Linked DNA regions of Homo sapiens: all the other regions are linked to region 1. Evidence: promoter capture Hi-C in human tissues and cell types (Jung and others, 2019). All regions are on one chromosome and are shown on one strand. The core of a region is centred on a gene start or on the middle of the fragment in contact, and the rest is flanking DNA. Distances in the headings are between cores, read along the strand shown.

Region 1 (4,977 bases), core at 710-3,209:
GGGAGGCTGAGGCAGGAGAATCGCTTGAACCCGGTAGGTGGAGGTTGTAGTGAGCCGAAATCGAGCCACTGCACTCCAGTGATAGAGGGAGACTCGGTCTCAAAAAAAAAAAAATTGCTGTCGCATTCATGAACATTATACTTCAGGCCCTGGCTCAGCCATTCACCCCTCTGGGAAGTCCTCCCTGACTGGTCGGGCGCCTCCTTTGGGCTCCTATGGTTCCTTATGCTCCTCAACTGGGCCTGTACCTCCCCGCCCTGGCCCGGATCCGTCTGCCTGTACATCTCCCATCTGGACCTCGACCCCTTTGCCCTCTGCCTGCACCTCACCAGTCCCCGCCCCGACCCCTCTGCCTGTGCCCCCCATTCCAGCCCAACCTCTCTGCCCGGGCTTCCCCCATCCTGGCCTCCCACCCCTCTGCCTGTCCCCTCCCCACCATCCCGCCGTGATGGCTCTAGGCTGTCACTGTCTATAATGGGTCGGCGTCCCCGCCCTGCACAGAAAACCTCATGAGGGCAGGGAAGAGAGCTGTCTTGATAACTACTGAGTCCTCAGTATTACCAAGGTAACATTTATTTCCTCCCTCAACACTGGTTTTGTTTTAACAGCTTTACTGAGGTATAATCTACCTGTCATAAAATTCACCTATTATAAGTGATTTACTGATTTTGGGTGATTTTACAGTTCTGCAGCCATCACAGCCAATTCAAGAACATTTCCATCACTCTGAAAAGATCCCTTCTGCCCATTTGCAGTCGCTCCCTATTCCCTGTCCCAGCCCCAGGCAACCACTGGTCTACTTTCTGTCCCATACATATTCTCTTCTTCATTTTACAAGCATTTTCTGAATATTTATTTTTATCAGCTATTGAGGGCTGAGGGTACACAATGAAACTCACAGGCCCTGCCTTCAGGGAACTCAGAGTCTGGTTATTGTAATAGCTGATGGGAAAATATGTCCATGCACTAATTTCTTCATTCATTCAAAAAACATTTATTGGCCAGGCACTGTGGCTTGTGCCTGTAATCCCAGCACTTTGGGAGGCTGATTGGGGAGGGTCACTTGAGGCCAGGAGTTCAAGACCAGCCTGGAAAATATAGTGAGACCCCCCCCCCCACCCCGATCTCTACAAAAAAATTTTTTTTTTTAATTATCAAGGTGTGGTGGTGCACACCTATAGTCCCAGTAACAGGAAGCTGAGGTGGGAGGATTGCTTGAGCCCAGGAGGTCGAGGCTGCAGTGAGCCATGATTGTGCCACTGCACTCCAGCCTGGGTGACAGAACAAGACCATCTCTACAGAAAAAAAAAAAAAAAAAAAAAAGAGAGAAAAAGAAGGGTCTTCCAAAAATTCATGGAAAATGTGTATTATGAAAAAACTATGCATGGAGTTCAATTTTTTTTTTTTGCACCAAAATAAATTCATACTAACTTGTTATAACTTGTCTGAACAGGACCTAGTTTGAGACACTAAAATAAAACATCAGATTGAAAAGAGCCCCTATCAGAGCAACACGAATTCTAAAATTGAAGCAAGAACAAGCATCAAATTGATGGTGAAGCTTGGGTGGAAGAATGATGAAATCATTGATGTTTTCCAAAAACTTGACAGTGCCCCAGAGAAATCAGCCATTTACAAATGGATAACTCGTTTTAAGAAGGGACAAGTTCGGGCGTGGTGGTTCACGCCTGTAATCCCAATACTTTGGGAGGCTGAGGCCAGCGGATCATTGGAGCTCAGGAATTCGAGACCAGCCTGGGTAACATGGTGAAACCCCATCCGTACAAAAAATACATAAATTAGCTGGGTGTGGTGGTGCACACTTGTAGTTCCAGCTACTCAGGAGGCTGAGGTGGGAGGATCACTTGAGTCTGGGAGGTAGAGGTTGCAGTGAGCCGTGATTGCGCCACTGCACTCCAGCCTGGGTCATGCTGAAGATGAAGCCCACCGTGGCATACCATCCACATCAATTTTTGCAGAAAAAAATTAAATTTGTTTATGCCTTAATTAAAGAGGACTTACAGTTAACAGCAGAAACAATAGCCAACACCATAGACATCTCAATTGGTACAGCTTACACAATTCTTTTTTCTTTTTTTTTTTTTTTTTTTTTGAGACAGGGTTCTCATACTGTCGCCCAGGCTGAGTACAGTGGTGAGATTGTGGCTCACTGCAGCCTCAACCTCCTGGGCTCAAGCGATCCTTCCACCTCAGCCTCCGAAGTAGTTGGAACTACAGGTGCGTGCCAGCACGTTCAGCTAAGTGTCACACGCGTCCCTGTGAAGAGACCACCAAACAGGCTTTGTGTGAGCAACAAGGCTGTTTATTTCACCTGGGTGCAGGCAGGCTGAGTCCAAAAAGAGAGTCAGCAAAGGGTGGTGGGATTATGATTAATTCTTATAGGTTTTGGGATAGGCGGTGGAGTTTGGAGCAATGTTTTGCGGGCAGGGGGCGGATCTCACAAAGTTCATTCTCAAGGATGGGAAGAATTACAAAGAAACTTCTTAAGGGTGGGGGAGATTACAAAGTACATTGATCATTAGGGTGGGGCAGAAACAAATCACAATGGTGGAATGTCATCAGTTAAGGCTATTTTCACTTCTTTTGTGGCTCTTCAGTTGCTTCAGGCCACCTGGATGTATACGTGCAGGTCACAGGCGATATGATGGCTTAGCTTGGGCTCAGAGGCCTGACACTAAATTTTCGTATTTTTTGTAGAGATGGGGGTCTCATTAGGTTTCCCAGGCTGGTCTTGAACTCCTGGACACAAGTGATCCTCCTGCCTCATTCTCCCGAACTGCTGGGATTACAGGCTTGAGCCACCTCACCCGGCCTCAGCTTACACAATTCTGACTGAAATTAAAGCTAAACAAACTTTCCACTCGATGGGTGCCAGAACGGTCGCACCCAGATCAGCTGCAGAGAAGAGCAGAGCTTTCCATGGACATGCTAAACAAGTGAGATCGAGATCCTAATGCATTTCCTTGAAGGATTGTAACGGGAAATGATACATGGTTTCACGGGTGCAATCCTAAAGACAAATCGTAATCAGAGAATGATTGCCAAGAGCGGGGAAGTGATCCAGTCAAGGCAGAAGCACACTGGTCAAGAGCAAAGGTCATAGCAACAGTTTTTGGGGATGCTCAAGGCATTTTGCTGGTTGACTTTCTGTAGGGTCAAAGAATAATAAGATCTGCTTATTATGAGAGTGTTTTGAGAAAGTTAGCCGAAGCTTTAGTAGAAATAAGCCTGGGAAGCTTCACCAGAGAGTTCTTCTCCAGCATGTCTACGCTTCTGCTCATTCTCCTCATCAAACGAGCAATTTTACAAGTTTTGATGGGAAATTATTAGGCATCCACTTGGCAGTCCCAATTTGGCTCCTTCTGACTTTTTGTTTCCTAATCTTAAAATCTTTGAAGGGCACCCATTTTTCTTCAGTTAAGAATGTAAAAAGACTGGGCTGGGCGGAGTGGCTCACGCCTGTAATCTTAGCATTTTGGGAGGCCAAGGAGGGTGGATCACCTGAGGTTGGGAGTTCAAGACCAGCCTGACCAACATGGCAAAACCCTGTCTCTACTAAAAAAAAAAATACAAAAATTAGCCAGGTGTGGTGGCTCATGACTGTAATCCCAGCTAGTCGGGAGGCTGAGGCAGGAGAATCACTTGAACCCAGGAGGTGGAGGTTGCAGTGAGCCGAGATCATGCCACTGCACTCCAGCCTGGGCAACAAGAACAAAAAAAAAAGGCCTGGCACAGTGGCTCACAACTGTAATGCTAGCACTTTGGGAGGCCGAGGCGGGCAGATCACCTGAAGTTAGGAGTTTGAGACCAGCCCGGCCAACTTGGCAAAACCTCGTCTCTACTAAAAAAAAAAAAATTAGCCAGATGTGGTGGTACATGCCTGTAGTCCCAGCTACTCAGGAGGCTGAGGCAGGAGAATGGCTTGAACCCGGGAGGCAGAGGTTGCAGTGAGCCGAGATCATACCACTGCACTCCAGCCTGAGCAACAGAGTGAGATTCCATCAAAAAAAAAAAGAAAGAGAAAATGTAAAAAGGCTGCACTGACATGATTAAATTCCTGGGACCCTCAGTTATTTAGGGATAGACTAAATGGCTGGTATAATGGTTTACAAAAGTGTCTTGACTTTGACCTTGATGGAGTTTATGGTGAGAAATAAAGATTTTTTTAAAATTTTTATCTCTTAATTCCATTCTCCATCAACTTTTTGAATTCCCCTCATAACACAATAGCAATTTGTAGCTCATACCTATAAGCTTAGATAGCATACAGTAGCTCATACCTATAAGCTTAAGTAGACATTTACATAACTTTTAGATATCTATAGTACGTAGATAGCTACAGATCAATGTAGATGTCGAAAGAGAAAGAGCGAGACCAGGCCAGGTGGTTCACGCCTGTAACCCCACTGCTTTGGAAGACTGAAGCAAGGGGATCGCCTGAGGCTGGAGGTTCCAGACCAGCCTAGACAACATAGCAAGAACTCATGTCTACAAAAAAATTCTTTTCATTAGCTAGGTATAGTGGCACACACCTGTAGTCTGGGCTACTCGGGAGGCTGATGCAGGAGGGTCTCCCGTGCCTAGGAGTTTGAGGCTGCAGTGAGCTATGATCGAATCATCGTACTCCACCTGGGCAACAGAGAAAGACCCTGCCTCTTAAAACACAAAGAAATAGGCCCAGCACAGTGGCTCACGTTTGTAATCCAAGCACTTTGGGAGGCCAAGGTGGGGGGAATCACTTGAGCCCAGGAGTTTGAGAACAGCCTGGGCAACATGGTGAAAACCCGTCTCTACAAAAAATACAAAAATTAGCTGGGTGTGGTGGTGGGCACCTGCAGTCTCAGCTACTCAAGAGGCTTAGAAGGGAGGATCGCTTGAGCCTAGCAGGTTGAGGCTGTAGTGAGCTGTGATCACACCACTGCACTCCAGCCTGGGCAACAGAGTGAAACCCCATCT
Region 2 (4,977 bases), core at 1,726-4,225, 230 kb after region 1:
TGGATCACCTGAGGTCAGGAGTTTGAGACCAGCCTGGCCAACATGGCGAAACCCTGTCTCTACTAAAAACACAAGAAAATTAGCCAGGCGTGGTGGCGCACGCCAATAATCCCAGCTACTCGGGAGGCTGAGGCAGGAGAATCACTTTAACCCGGAAATGGAGGTTGCAGTGAGCCAAGATCATGCCACTGCACTCCAGCCTGGGCGACAGAGCAAGACTCTGTCTCAAAAAAAAAAAAAAAAAAAAAAGGGATTTGGGTGGGGGAATATTCGAGAATAAAATATAGTATGTAATTTCTTCATTACAACCAAATTAGCATGTGAACCTTCATTGGATCCTGATTTTGGAGAAAAGAAAGCAACTATAAAGGATATTCTTGGGTCAGTTGGAGAGATTTGATTAGGTGATATTGTGGAATTCTTGATTCTATTAGATGTGAAATAGTATTTTTGTGGCTTGTACATGAATGTCCTTATTCTTTTTTTTTTTTAGGTGGAGTTTGCTCTTGTTGCCCAGGCTGGAGTGCAATGACGCAATCTCAGCTCACTGCAACCTCCACCTCCTGGGTTCAAGCAATTCTCCTGTCTCAGCCTCCTGAGTAGCTGGGATTACAGGCACATGCCACCATGCCCGGCTAATTTTTGTATTATTAGTAGAGACGGGGTTTCATCATATTGGTTAGCCTGGTCTCGAACTCCTGACCTCCGGTGATCCACTCGCCTTAGCCTCCCAAAGTGCTGGGATTACAGGTGTGAGCCAACGCACAGGGCCTAATGTCCTTATTCTTAAGAGATGCCTCCTGAGCTGTTAAGGGTAGAATATCAAGATGCTTGCAATTACTCTCCAAAGGTTTAGCAAAAGAAACAATATATACACATATGTAGATAAAGGGAACTTAGCACAATGTTACCAACTACTACTTTTTTCTTTTTTTTTTTTTTTGATACAGGGTCTTGTTCTGTTACTCAGACTAGAGTGCAGCGGCATGAACATGGCTCACTGCAGCCTTGACCTCCTGGGCTCAAGGAATCCTCCCACCTTAGCCCCACAAGCAGCTGGGACCACAAGAACATGCTACCACGCCTGGCTAATCCTTTTTTTTTTTTTTTTTTGAGACAGAGTCTTGCTCTGTTGCCCAGTCTGGAGTGCAGTGGCGCTGTCTTGGATCACTGCAACCTCTGCCTCCTGGGTTCAAGCTATTCTCCTGCCTCAGCCTCCTGAGTAGCTGGGATTACAGGCGCCTGCCACCACACCTGGCTGATTTTTTGTATTTTTAGTAGAGACAGGGTTTTACCATGTTGGCCAGGCTGGTCTCGAACTCCTGACCTCGTGATCTGCCCACCTCGGCCTCCCAAAATGCTGAGATTACAGGCGTGAGCCACCACGCCCGGCCCACGCCTGGCTAATTCTTAAATTTTTTTGTAGTGATGAGATCTCACTGTGTTGCCCAGGCTGGACTCAAGTGAACTCCTGGACTCAAGTGACCCTCCTGCCTTGGCCTCCCAAAGTACTGGATTACAGTTGTTGCCTAGCTAACAACTATCAATTAAATCTAGGTGAGAGAGTATTCAGGCGTGAGCCACTGCATCCGGCCATGGGAGGAGTATTATACCCTGTCTACCTCTAGCCCCATCCTGCATGTCTATCCACCTTGAACTAAGAGCTTGTCTTATTACAACAGCTATTACTACTAACAAAGAAACAACGTTGCTAACCAGGCATGGTGGTGTGCGCCTGTAGTCCCAGCTGCTTGGGGGTCTGAGGCAGGAGGATGGCTTGAACCTGGGAGGCTGCAGTGAGCCGAGATGGCACCCCTGCACTTCAGCCTGGGTGACAGAGCGAGACCCTGTCTCAAAAGCAAAATAAAATAAAATAAAAAGTAAAGAAAAAAATAATAAGCAGCTGGGCGCGGTAGCTCACGCCTGTAATCCCAACACTCAGGGGCCGAGGAGGGCGGATCACCTGAGGTGAGGAGTTTGAGACCTGCCTGGCTAACATGGTGAAACCCCATCTCTACTAAAAATACAAAAATTAACCGGGCGTGGTGGCGCACGCCTGTAGTCCCAGCTACTCGGGAGGCTGAGGCAGGATAATTGCTTGAACCTGGGAGGCGGAGGTTACAGTGAACCGAGATCGTGCCCCTGCACTCCAGCCTGGGCGACGGAGTGAGAATCTGTCTCAAATAAATAAATAAATAAATAAATAAAATGAAAAAAAAAAAAAAAACACAAAACATGTTGCACCCCACTCTGAAGATTTTTCATGAATTAATTTAATCCTTAAAAACAATCCTGTAAACTAGGCGCTATTTTCTCTCATTTTAAAGGAGAAACAGACCAGAAGGGATTAAAACACTTGCCGCAGGTCACACAGCTGCTTAGGGAATGGAGCCCGGGATGTGATTCCGTTGGTATCGCACTCCCACCTCACTCCCGCCTTTAACCACAATTAAGTCCAACTGTCCAGCATTGCTTGAGTGTGGTATTGTGTTCTTATAGATACGATCCTACTTAAAGTATCCTGTCAAGAGGTAGGCAAGACGATCCCCATTTAACTTTGTGTAGCTTGAAGAGGTTGATCATTTTTCCAAGGTCACGCATCCAGTGAGTGGGGAATCCGGAGTCGGAATTTGAACCCGGGCATTATCTGTAGTGTAGACCCCTGTCGGGGCTGGATGTGTAAGAAGCTTAATTGCCGGGTTTGGCAGGTGCATGGGTAGTTGTGAGGGGCTCGTATTTTGAGAGGCAAAAGCCCCCACTCGCCACCGTTCCCCGGAGTAAAAAGCCACCTCTTTCCACCCCTCACTCGCGCAGCTGCCCGGGCATGCGCCCTGAAGCCCCTCCTTCAGAATCCGCCCCCTACAAGCTCCGCCCATCACCATGCAGGGCCAATCCCTGGGGCGGAGGGCGGGGCAGCCACGAGAGTGGGCGGTCGCTAAGGGTAGTTAGGAGTCTGGAGTCGTGAGCCGGAGTCAGAACTGCGTCTCGCGACCCAGGCGCGGGTTTCCGGAGGACAGCCAACAAGCGATGCTGCCGCCGCCGTTTCCTGATTGGTTGTGGGTGGCTACCTCTTCGTTCTGATTGGCCGCTAGTGAGCAAGGTATGTAAATGAAGGGGCCTGGGAACAGAAGGGCTACCAGCGGCCGGGTCCTTCACAGAGTTCGATCCCTGGGTCCGACAGGTGCCCGCCGGGGCTGCCCGGGATCGAGACGCACGGACCTCTACGTGCTGTCTGCCCCGGCCGGGCCGGGTGAATCACGCCGCAGTCCGAGAAGGGGGCGGAGGCGCCGGCTTCTTGGCTCCGGCTGCGTGACTCACCCGCCCCCGCCGCCGCCGCTTCGGGAGGAGCCGCCTCCACTGCCGGAAGCGAGCGGAGGCCGGGCGCAGAGAACAGCCCGCCAGGGGTCCCGGCTCGCACGGCGCCGGGAGGCCGGCAGGAATCACAGCCGGGAATCGGGGCAGTAGAAGGGGTCCTGGGGTCAGAGGGGCCAGAATCCCCGGGGGAAAGCCGGCCTGGGCACCGCTAGGGGGCGCCGGGACCCGGGGGCGGAGTCGGGGGTGGGGGCGGAATTCCTGCGGTTCCGGACTCCCCGGACTGCGGGGAAGGGGACGAAGACCCTGTTTTGAGTAGTGTGGTGGGCCATTCTTAAAATCTTGCTAGGCAGGGTTCCGAAACTGGACTCTACAGTCTTCCTGGCCCAAAAAAGTAGGTAGCGCCAGGAGTCCAAAACTCCAGCCCTACCCCCGCCACTCCAAGAACAGTGGACCCTCAAACTTATCTCAGTGACTGAACCCGGTGCCGATCACGATTTCCCGACAAGCCCTGTCTATTCTGCCTCCCAAATAAGTCCTGACTCGACCGACTTCCTTCCATGCCACTACCAGCTCCTACTCCAGGCCATCACCATCGTCCGTCCCAAACGAGTACAGCCTACCAGTGGGTCTCAGATCCCCCCTCTTTTTGCCCCCCACAGTCTTCCTCGAAGCAGCCATGGGGGGGATCTTCCGGAAACCTAATCAGCTCACAGCACCATTCCCTCCCTGCTCAAATTCCTTTAATGACTGCCCACCACACTCAGGATAAAATCCAAACTCCCTACTTCTGCATATGTGGCTTTCTGTGACCTGGCTTGTGCCCGTTCCCCTAGCTGCTCCCCAATCTGGTCTCCTACCATGTCACTCTCTGTGTGCCACCCATGCTGGTCTCTTTCCAGTTCAAGCCCATCCAGCCTCTGGGCTTTTCTCTGCCTTTTTTTGTTGTTCCCTCCTCCCGGAATGCTTTTCCCAGGGTCTCCCATGGCTGACTTCTCTGGCCTGAGGGCTCCATTCAAATGTCACCTCCTTACAGGAGCCTTCTCTGATGATCTAAAAGGTCTCTAGGAACTTTTAGTGTCTTCCTGTAATTCTCTGTACATTTCCTGTGTTTCCTTATTTATTTACTGTTTGAAACATAGTCATAGTAGACAATAAATATTAAACTACGTGAAACTAGTTTAGTATTTATAATATTATAACTTATTTAGATATAATTATGTTATTATAATAAAATATGTGAAACAGCTGCTTTTGTAGGGGAAAAAGTTGAATATTGGCCATTCCACATGGTTCACTGAAGAAATAATAATGTTATCATTAAGTGTACTTATTGGCAGGGTGAGGCAGCTCACACTTGTAATCTCAGTACTTTGGGAGGCTGAGGAAGGAGGATGGCTTGAGGCAAGGAGTTTGAGACCACCCTGGGCAACATAGTGAGACCATGTCTCTACAAAAAAATAAAAGGGAAAAAAAAAAGTACTTATTGACTGAGGGGGGAGGATCGCTTCAGGCCAGGAGTTTGAGACCAGCCTGGGCAATATAGTGAGACCCCATCTTTATTTTTTCAGATAAAAAAGTCTATAAATATACTTAAATATAAAATTTAAAATTTAAGAAGTCTATAGGCCAGGCGCGGTGGCTCACGCATGTAATCCCAGCACT
Region 3 (4,977 bases), core at 1,111-3,610, 220 kb before region 1:
AACAAACTCCTCAGATTTCTGTCTCCCACCTTTTTAAGAAACAAGAAGGAAAAGGAGGAGCCAGGCCCAGGTGCAGGCTGGTGAACAGGATTAGAGGGATTGATATCTGCCAAGCTGGTGCTAATCTTCCTTTCCACCTCTTCCCCTCCAAAATCAACAAACAACTTTCCTCTCTCTGCCTTGTTCTCTGACCTTTGTTCCCTCCACACAGGTCTCAGAGCTCAGCATCCTAGAACAGTTTGAGCAAGATGTCAGTCCTGGGGGTGCCAACCTCACCCACCTCCACTTGTCCAAAGTTGGTGACCCAGAGGACAGGTGCAACCCTAAATGGTCCAACCACCAGAGCCTGTCCTGTGGCCATCTGGGGCCCCTCTCAGGGTCTGGCTGAGGCTCATCTCAGACCCACATAGGACCAATATCAGCACCTGCCTCATGCTCATGTCAGAGCCCACTGGGACCAACCTCAGACCCTATATGGTGCCACCCTTATGCCCTCCTGAAGCAGGACACTCTTATGCCCTCAATGACACCTGAGACAACACACAGAGCCCTCTTGGCACCAAACATGACTTCAATATTCTCCTGGTGTCAAGTTCAGTGCCAACTTGTTTCCCATCCTCGCATACACCTGGGGGCAGTCCCAAAGCCAACACGATGCCTTTCCCTCCCTGGCCATACCTGATGCTGATATCAGAACCCGCCAATGTCATCAGTGTGTCCACTGCTGATGCCAGTCTCAGCACTCACCTCCTGCTAAGGCTGGCCCGCACTTGACTCCCAGGGTGATCTAGGCCAGTCAATGAAGGGGGGCGAGGAGAAAGTTCACATCCCAGCTCCCTCACTTACTCCCTGTGTGACCTCACTCAAGAGGGTTTATGGAGTCTAGATCTGCTCATCTTCAAAATGAGGATGATCACGATGAACCAACCTCACTGTTACAAAGATTCAACCAGATCATACACACCTAGACTTAATCTTCCCATATATGACCATGCTCACCAAAGGGTAACTGTCCTGTTTACTAAGGAAGAATTTCCCTGAAGGAAGGACAGGAGGGCTACTCATCCCTTCTCCACTCACACCCACCCCAGGATCTGCCTCTGTGCCTAACACTGGAGTTTACCCCAATCTCTTCTGCGACTGTTCCCTCTGCCTGCTAATAGTAGTAGCCCCTGACAAAGCAGGAATCGCCCTTAAAGGAGACTTAACTCACCCTCAAATGTGATCTTCTCTTCCCAAACACTCCCTTTCCACTGGCAGGAAAACCAAATCCAGAAAGGGGAACTAAGTACACAGAGCAGGAGAGATGGGAGTTCAGGGCCACTCACACATGTCCCCTGCCCACTGTCTGTTTTCTGTCCTCTGTAGATCTTTATATAAAATGAGAAACATAAACAACAATCATAATATTAATAGGGATGATACAATCAATCTAGTGGGTTTCCCTGAGGATCTGGGTTGGAAACCAGCGGACAACCCTTGGGACACTTGAGATTTTTCCACCATTTGGGGGTTGTTATTACTATTTCTCCAGACCTAGCCAATCCCTCTGCCAACCGCTAACTCCAGGTACTCTTCTCCAGGTGTGGGGAAAGTTCCCCTGAAATATGGCCCTGGTCTTCCACCCCTTTCCCAACCAGAGATGGGCAGTGGAGGTTCCATGGCACCCATCCTGGCCTCACTCTGAGGTTCCAATGAGGATTCTGGGCATCAAGAGATAGCTCTGGGCAAAAGCAAAATCAAGTCAGCCCCTGGGCCCATTGCTGGGCTGCTGGGCTTTCTGGGAGCACCTGCTGGCTTGCTACACACTCCTCCTCCCAGAAACTCCACACCCACAGCCCTGGGTCTTCCTAGCCCCGAGACTTTCAAGTCCATATGCCTGGAGTCCCCCCTCCTGAGACCCTTAACCCTGCATCCTCCGCAACAGAAGACCTCCAGATGCACAGCCACACTTCCATCTCACCCTAATAAAACCCAGACCTTTGGATTCCTCTCCCTTGGAATGCCCAAATCCACAACTTTGGGGTGCATTCTCACTCTCAGACCCCAAATCCAAAGCCCAAGTGCTCCCCTATGCAAATATTCCAAACTCTTCAGTTCTACAGTTTATCGGTTGCCCCCTCCTAAATCCACAGCCCTGCGGCACCCCTCCTGAAGTACCACAGATTTAGTCTGGAGGCCCCCTCTCTGTTCAGCTGCCCTGGGGTCCCCTTATCCTCCCTTGCTGGCTGTGTCCCAAGCTAGGTGGCATTCATGGTGGGGCGTGTAGTTGGGAGGTGAAATAAGGTGATTATGTAATTAGCCAAAGTCCATCCCTCTTTTTCAGGCAGTATAAAGGCAAACCACCCCACCCATCACCATCTGTCATCTCACTACCACCATGCTGGCCTCAGGGCTGCTTCTGGTGGCCTTGCTGGCCTGCCTGACTGTGATGGTCTTGATGTCTGTCTGGCAGCAGAGGAAGAGCAGGGGGAAGCTGCCTCCGGGACCCACCCCACTGCCCTTCATTGGAAACTACCTCCAGCTGAACACAGAGCACATATGTGACTCCATCATGAAGGTGTCCCAAGGCAGGAAGATGGGTGGCACAGGGTGGGGGCTGCCTAGTTGGCTGGGGCTTTGTGGCAGGGGATTGACCAGTGTGGACCAGAGTCTTAGGAAAGGGAGTTTTGGAGTTTCAGCATCCGGGTCCTAGCCAGGAAAGACAGGATCTTGGGATGTCCAGCTCCCTGACTGTGAGAACCTGGGGGTGAAGGATCCCAGTACTTGACATCTCGGTGCTGGGCCCCATTCAGAGTGGGGGCTGCTCCCTCTAACCACTCCCACTCGCCTCCATCAGTTCAGTGAGTGCTATGGCCCCGTGTTCACCATTCACTTGGGGCCCCGGCGGGTCGTGGTGCTGTGTGGACATGATGCCGTCAGGGAGGCTCTGGTGGACCAGGCTGAGGAGTTCAGCGGGCGAGGCGAGCAAGCCACCTTCGACTGGGTCTTCAAAGGCTATGGTGAGGGGGTGCCCAAGATGGGGAAGGTGGCCAGGCGGACACGATGGTCTCAGTGTTGCCAGCCTTCTCCCTGACTCTCCTGCCCACTGGAGGCTATGGCAGAACCCCCGGTCTGGTCTTATCTCCCCATCTCCCTTCACTGTGGCCTCTCCATGTGTATCCCTCACCTGTCTCCAGCGTCCCTGTCGTGATTCCTCCCTGCCTCTCTCTGCCCCACCTCCTTATTCTCTCTCACTGGAGTCTCCTCTTTCCCCTCTCTCTCCATCTCTGAGGACATCCTGGGTTTCTGTTTTCCAGCCCTGGTCCTCTGTCTTCATTTGTCTTTTTGTTGCTCTCAGCTTCTGTGCTTCTCCATGTTTCTCCTCTCTCCACTTCCCTCTCTCACTTTTTCCTCTCCCTTAGGATTTCATGCTATTCTTACTTCCACATCTCCAGCCTCCATCTCCTGGTAACAGTCTCTCTTCCTTCCAGACCCTCTCTGTTTCTGTCTCAGTATTTTTCTCTCTTCTCCAGCTCAGCTTAAGAATGTTTCACCATTTTTATTTCCTCCTCCCAGATCTCCCCATATCTCACTTCCCCTCCCTCCATCCTCTTCCTCCATCTCTCTCTTTCTCTCCCCACTTCCTACCCTTCCTCCATGGAGTATCCCCTTATCCCTCTGTTTCTCTGCGCATCTCTATCTGGCCTTTCTGTTTCTCTTCTGATTCTCTTATTCTTTCTACCCGGTCTCTCTCTCTCTCTCTCTCTCTCTCTCTCTCTCTCTCTCTCTCTCTCTCTCTCTCTCTCTCTCCCTCGTGTTTCTCTGACTGAGTTTGCACCTGTCCTGGGCACTGGCACTGAATCCATCTCTCTCCCACCCCACTACCCCTCTGCTCCACCCTTGGGGAGCCCCTTGGAACTGGTCCGCTCCTGCCACCGCCGCCCCCTGACCTCTCTCCACCCCCGCCTTGACCTCCCCAGGCGTGGCGTTCAGCAACGGGGAGCGCGCCAAGCAGCTCCTGCGCTTTGCCATCGCCACCCTGAGGGACTTCGGGGTGGGCAAGCGAGGCATCGAGGAGCGCATCCAGGAGGAGTCGGGCTTCCTCATCGAGGCCATCCGGAGCACGCACGGTGAGTAAGGTTCCCCGAGTGCGGGGGCAGGAGAAGGAAAACACCCAGGACGAGGAACCCGCGCGCGTTCTGCCTGCGGATGGGGACTAGGTGGGGAAAGGCGCCCGCACTTCCAGCCCTGGAGTCTGGCGCTGGGAATTTGGCTCAACAAGGCCCTGCCTCCTGGAATTCTGATTCTCCTCAGACCTCTGAGTTGACTCTCTCCCCAACCCCCTTCTCCCTCCACACCCGCAGGCGCCAATATCGATCCCACCTTCTTCCTGAGCCGCACAGTCTCCAATGTCATCAGCTCCATTGTCTTTGGGGACCGCTTTGACTATGAGGACAAAGAGTTCCTGTCACTGCTGAGCATGATGCTAGGAATCTTCCAGTTCACGTCAACCTCCACGGGGCAGGTAACTGGCTGCAGCCCGGCCCGTGACGCCCCTACCACAACCTGCCAACTGCTCCCCTACCTGGAGACAGGTGCCCCAAACTCCCACCCCGCTCCAGACAGTGTCCCCTCAAAATCAGCCCCCGATATTGGACAACTGGACAGTTGCACCAGAAGCCTGTCTCCAAGGACACCTGGATAGCTCAACAGATGCTCCCCAAAACAGAGCCTGCTGGTAGGATACATACCCTCAGCTCAGCTCTCTCACCTGGGCACGTGTTCCCATCCCCAACTTACCGTAATTTCTAACAGATGCTCCCTACCCAGTTCTTCTGAATATTTTAACACCTGGACAAATGACTGCGTCAACCCGCCTCCTGCATGCCTGAACACCTGGTGCTGCAAAATCCAGCCCATCATAATCATTTCACATCTACACAAATGTCCCAGATTAGCCCACTGGAATATCTGGCCAAGCGCCCTCTACTTCAC

The links. Contacts are between HindIII fragments. The study calls those that stand out against the background at their distance.
Region 2: the fragment with the promoter of SERTAD1 here is called in contact with a fragment that was not itself captured in region 1 in 2 of the 25 tissues and cell types used here (IMR-90 fibroblasts and spleen).
Region 3: a contact is called between the fragment with the promoter of CYP2A7 here and a fragment that was not itself captured in region 1, in 3 of the 25 tissues and cell types used here (lymphoblastoid cells, small bowel and spleen).

The regions. Positions count from the first base shown.
Region 1 is chr19:40,657,691-40,662,667 of GRCh38, reverse strand. No RefSeq gene overlaps it. Among named protein-coding and RNA genes, the nearest start is that of NUMBL, 30 kb to the left of the region's middle. The HindIII fragment of the contact is 4,666 bases long and covers 1-4,292 here.
Region 2 is chr19:40,423,990-40,428,966 of GRCh38, reverse strand. SERTAD1 (SERTA domain containing 1) reads left to right here and starts at 2,975. Exons shown (of 2, transcript NM_013376.4): 1 at 2,975-3,100. RefSeq lists a silencer at 3,518-3,607 and an enhancer at 3,650-4,452. The HindIII fragment of the contact is 15,089 bases long and covers 1-4,977 here.
Region 3 is chr19:40,879,614-40,884,590 of GRCh38, reverse strand. CYP2A7 (cytochrome P450 family 2 subfamily A member 7) reads left to right here and starts at 2,360. Exons shown (of 9, transcript NM_000764.3): 1 at 2,360-2,560; 2 at 2,840-3,002; 3 at 3,963-4,112; 4 at 4,347-4,507. The coding sequence starts at 2,381. The HindIII fragment of the contact is 10,061 bases long and covers 1-4,977 here.